2 separate regions of the Homo sapiens genome follow, and region 1 is linked to region 2. The links are contacts of gene promoters, found by promoter capture Hi-C in blood cells and fetal thymus (Javierre and others, 2016). All regions are on one chromosome and are shown on one strand. The core of a region is centred on a gene start or on the middle of the fragment in contact, and the rest is flanking DNA. Distances in the headings are between cores, read along the strand shown. Region 1 has its middle 5.1 kb from the start of GOLGA7. Region 2 holds the start of SMIM19 (small integral membrane protein 19).

Region 1 (2,700 bases), core at 81-2,580, 1.1 Mb before region 2:
CCAATGCCCTAGAATGCATATTACTATAAAGCAACCGTAGAAATTAATCCTTTGTGTTAGTGAGTATTTGTCCTTTATGGGAAAATTAGACATAACATGCAGTGCACATGGAAGAGCCCACAGGGGGAATTGTGAAGTTTTCATCCCTAGAGGTCATAAAGATAGTTGAAATAGTGCCAGATTCTAAGAAGGACACCTGGGCCAGATGTTTACCAGGCCCCTCCAACTCAAGGGAGGTACAATTCTAAGGAGGGAGGTCTTTTTTTTCTTTTCTTTTCTTTTTTTTTTTTTTTTTTTTTTGAGACCGAGTTCCACTCTTGTTGCCCAGGCTGGAGTGTAGTGGCGCGATCTCAGCTCACTGCAACTTCCACCTTCTGGTTTCAAGTGATTCTCCTGCCTCAGCCTCCCGAGTAGCTGGGATTACAGGGGCATGCCACTACCTCGGGCTAATTTTTGTATTTTTAGTAGAGACGAGGTTTCACCATGTTGGCCAGGCTGGTCTCCGACTCCTGACTTCGTGATCTGCTTGCCTCGGCCCCCCAAAGTGCTGGGATTACAGGCGTGAGCCACCGCACCCAGCCTGTTTTTCTTTTTACTTTTGTCAAAACTGCCGTCAAATCAGGTTCCACAGAAGATATGGACAGTTAATCATCTATCCCAGATAATGATGGTGTGTTCCCACTAGATGCCCTCATATTTCTTCCATCCACAACTAGCTATATGATTTTTGAGGCCCAGTGCAAAATTAAAGTGCAGACTCCCATGTTCAGAAAGTATTACGAATTTCAAGATGATGACAGCAGGACATTAAGCCAAGAAGAGAGCTCTTCTCAGTGCAGATCCCTATGCAACTATACAAGTCACACACCCGTGACACCACCCTTGCTTCCAGCTCTGCAATTCTACACTGTGCTGGTGAAAAGAGTCTGAAATCTCCAAACCCTCTTATCCACCAGCCACTTCAGATATGAGAGGTCTTCAATAGGATCCTAAACAATAAAGGCAAAGGACCCTTATTAATGACATCATTCAATCTGCTCTTCTCCCTCACAATGAAATAAACAAAAATGTAAGCAAGAGCAGCTCTTTCATGGAGAGAGCATTCAGTACAACTGTCTGGCATCTGTTCAGCCTGTTTCCTGAAACTGGGACACACGTTGTTTTAGATGGTGAAATTTAAATGGAAGGAACAGATGCTGTCAATTCAGGTATGCCAATAATGTTCTCTCAAAATGCAATAAAGACATACAAGCTTATAAAACGGAAGCTGACTTGAAATTACCAGCAAATGCATGAAAACAAAGAGACAATGATCCTTGGAGTTCTGCCCATTGTACCAGTGCATGGTAGACACTAGAACTGAAAACGAGGAAAATGGATTTGATCTGCCCCCACCCCAGTCATGCCTCAAAGCTTTAGAAGAAAACAACTACTACAAAAAAAACGATGTTAGACGAAACGGGGATGGCTTCGGTGAGCAACGTGAGCATGGCCAAGGAGGACAGTTTAAAATTTCTTTAGTATAAGGACGTCTTTCAATCCAATTGAGATCTTTATGAAGGACCTGGGAGGAAGTGGTTGGACACAAATAGAACAAAGCCCAGGAGAGATCGTAGCTGAAGAGAAGACGCCATCTGCAGCGTGGGAAGCTGTTTGTAAGCAGGGCCGAAAATGATCCAGGATGGGTCAAAAGTTGAACATGAGTTGGTGATACAGAATGGGACCCCGCATTGAAAAGCTAGCTTTGTTCCAATAGAGAAAAAAAAACAGAGTTGAAAATGGAGGGACAAAAGGATTTCACTGATAATATTCAGCACAGGTTAACGCTCTTATCAGAGTATCTAGTTTGAAACACCAGAAGGTTCTGAGAGTCATACAAAAAGACAGAAACTTTGGAATAGAGATCCTACCATCGAAGATAAAGGAAGCTGGTTCATTCACCTTGGAGAAGAAACGATAGAGGGGTGTGTAAAAGGATATAAGATTTTTATCACCATCTCTCTTCTCTATTAAAGATCTCTCATCCCTACTCCCACCTGACCCTCACCCAAGCAGACTTCAGATCCTACTTATTTCAGGTATGAATACTTATCATTCCCTGGACAGAGAGGCTGGAATGCCCAATTATCTCTCCTTCTGTTAAAACCCCTCCCCTTCCCCAAAGTTTTTTAACCTGTTATAATCTCCCTCCTCCCACCCTCCTGGCCACCCATAAGAATGTGAATTTCCACAGGACATAAATAATCCACACTTTTTTTATCCTTTCATCACCAGCCCTTATGAGTGTCGACAAATATTTGTTGAATGAATTCATTTTCAAAGCATTTCATGAGAATCTATTATGGACAGAGGAATAAAATAGATAATATGTAGGCTTCAAAGAAGCTAAACATAGACAAGGGACTCAAAATTCAAAAAGGAAGAATGAATTGTCAATACTGTAGACTAATAGCTTGACTTCAGCTCCTTAAAATATCAGAGGATTGTTGAAAACATAGAAAGGAATAAAATAATAGTGTAGGGCTAGTGAGCTCATAGATTATAGATCATATCTGTATTATATAGTATTATCATTGTTTGGCCAGGGTTACTAGATTAATAGATATAGTAGAGATTATATGAGGTAATGCATATAAACCGCTCAACCTAGTTCCTTAACACTAATAGCCCAATGAATAGTAGCTGCTGCTATCATGATGT
Region 2 (2,707 bases), core at 113-2,612:
CGGAGGTTGCAGTGAGCCAAGACAGTGCCATTGCACTCCAGCCTGAACGAGAGCAAAACCCCGTCTCAAAAAAAACAAAACAATAACAATAATGTACACGTTTCACATTTGGACACACTGAAATCAAACTCACGTATTCAAATTTTTTTAGATTAAGTTACATAAAGCATGCACACCATTTGGCACAGGCCCGGCAAACAATCAGTACTCAACATCACCTGTTATTTTCCTGATTTTCCAACTTTAGAGTCAAACTAAATGTTATAGAATTATATGTATGATTATGTATATACAATATATATAAATACATATAAATACCGTAAATTAAGCTAGTATGTTATTGCGTAAAGTAATGGTCTTACCCTAGACGAAGGTGAGTTTAATTGTAACAGATGAAACAAAGAATAGAAAACTTGTTAAGAAGTGTTCAATGTAAGCTCTCATCTCTGCAGGGTTTCATGTGACTTATAATTACCAGTCAGCTGGTCCTAGAGAACTTAATCAAAATGTATAGTAAAGACGAACTACGTGGACCAGTGGCCATTTATCTGCAAGGTGGCACCAGCCACTGACATCTGATCACTTCCATACTGATGCTGAAATCCTATGCAAATTCATTACTTAGGTCAAGCTGGGAAACACTTCTGTCAAGTCACTACACAATTAAATAAAAATACCCAAAAGGGACTTACACTGACAATGCTATAGCATCCTGGCCATATCCAGTTTTGAAAACACTACGGTGTCAGCCACGCACCATTTAGGACGGGGAGAATGGAAAGCCAGTTTGGAGAACAGACGCTTTCTTAAGAGTACACGTGAATATGAAAAGGGACTCTATGCTCTCAAGACCAAAAAAGAAATCCTCTGCGCCGCCCGGCTACATTGCGCCTGGTGGGACAATGTACACGACCCCTCCCCCGCCGAGTCCCACCCCAAGCGCGCACAGCGGAGCAGGAGGCGCCCGGCACTCGCAGGTAATGCCCGGTCCCTGCCACTTCCGTCGAGTTTTCGCAAAGGCGCCGCACGGCAAGCGACGGCCAGGTCCACGTGGGCCAGCAGGCGCGGGGGACGCAACCCGCCGCCGCCGCGAGCCCCGCCGGCGCCGACCAGCCCTGGCCCCCACCCGCGGGAGCCCGGGAGTCGGGCCGGGGGCTCGCGGGAGGCGGCGCGCGCAGCCCGGGCGGGGGTCGCGGCGCGGTAGGGGAAAGGAGCCCGGCTCCACTCACGCGCCCGGGGGCGGCACTGGGGCCGCCGCTGCGTCTCTCCGGCTCAAAAAACTGAAAAGGGGAAAGGAAAAAAAAAAAAAAAAGACCTGGCTCCTCGTTTCATCCGGAAACCGACCGGCCGGCAGGAAATGACGAAGGCAGAGGGCGTCCAGGTCCGCTCGGTAACCGTTTCCCGCGCGCCCGGCCCCGACTCCGGGGTAAAGAGCCCCGGAGCGGAGCAGCGCTGGCCGCGTGCCGCCTCCGGAGCCGGCAGCGTGAGTGGCCCCGCGTCCCCGCTTCTCCCGGTCCCCGGCGGGGCCGCGTCACCCGGCCCCGCCCCGCGCCGCCCGCCCCGCCCCGGACGCGGGGGTAAGGGGGGTGGCCGCCCGCCTGCCCTCGGTCCCGTGCGGTCCCCGAAACTCCGAGCACCCGCCCGGTCCCGGCGCGGAGCCCCTCGGCGTCGCGTGGAGCTGCGAGTCGCCCGCTTCCGGAAGCGCACACGGGCCAGTTGCGGCGGCCCATCTGCCGGGGCGGCGGGGGCTCGGCGGGAGGGTTGAGGCTGAATCACGCGCAGCCTGCGGGCGGCGGAAACGTCCCTAGAGCCTCGCCGCCCTGGGACCCGGGCTGCTTCCTGGGAGAGGATTACATTTTCTCCCTGCTCCACTTGACTTTCTTCCGGAAGGAGCAGGTCTCGCAGGATCGGGGCCAAGACTGGAAGAGTTCAGGTTTGGGAGTCGTGTGTATAACAGCCCCGCGCCTCCACGCCCAGGCCTGTGTGGCTTTGGACAAGTTATATAACCACCGCCGCCACCCCAGTTTCTTCTCCTGTAAAATGGAGCTTTAGTGCCGCCCAGCAGGGTTGTTGGGATAATTCAGTGACTCTGTGGACTGCCCAGCACCTGTGAATTGCTTTCCTGGATGTTGGGTGAAGGCCTGTGAGCTTGTATGTACCCTTTGGCTTCAGAATACCAAGCCTTTAGTGTTTCAGAGGGATGAGAGAAAGAAATCCCATTTTTTGATGCAGAGGATTTTGTTGTAAGGGACTCTAGGAACTAAGTGGTTCCAATGTGAATTTGTATCAAAGTAACAAAGTTCTAAGTGAGAGACAAAAATGATAACATTCAAGGCACGATGACAAGCGGTGGTCAATTTTAGAATCACCTAGACGTGACATCAGGAACCCAAAATCACGACACAGATTTTAAAGCTTATGATACAGTGACCTAGTCCCTAGAAAAAGTAGTTCTCGGCTGGGCACGGTGGCTCACGCCTGTAATCCCAGCACTTTGGGAGGCTGAGGCGGGCGGATTGCCTGAGCTCAGGAGTTTTGAGACCAGCCTGGGCAGTATAGTGAGACGACCCCCACCCCACCCCCGTCTTTAAAAAAAAAAAAATAAGAATTACCCAGGCATGGTGGCACTTGCCTGTATTCCCAACTACTTGGGAGGCTGAGGCAGGAGAATCCCTCGATTCTGGGACGTCGAGGCTGCAGTGAGCCG

What was found. The method cuts DNA at HindIII sites, captures the fragments that hold promoters and counts their contacts. A CHiCAGO score of 5 or more calls a contact.
Region 1: a contact is called between a fragment that was not itself captured here and the fragment with the promoter of SMIM19 in region 2, in 1 of 17 cell types (naive B cells). The highest score is 5.1, in naive B cells.

Annotation. Positions count from the first base shown.
Region 1 is chr8:41,484,098-41,486,797 of GRCh38, forward strand. No RefSeq gene overlaps it. Among named protein-coding and RNA genes, the nearest start is that of GOLGA7, 5.1 kb to the right of the region's middle. The HindIII fragment of the contact is 161 bases long and covers 1,251-1,411 here.
Region 2 is chr8:42,540,223-42,542,929 of GRCh38, forward strand. It overlaps SMIM19 (small integral membrane protein 19), which reads left to right and starts at 1,363. Exons shown (of 4, transcript NM_001135674.2): 1 at 1,363-2,151. It also overlaps a transcript of SLC20A2 not described here. RefSeq lists silencers at 944-1,223, 1,364-1,783. The HindIII fragment of the contact is 8,293 bases long and covers 1-2,413 here.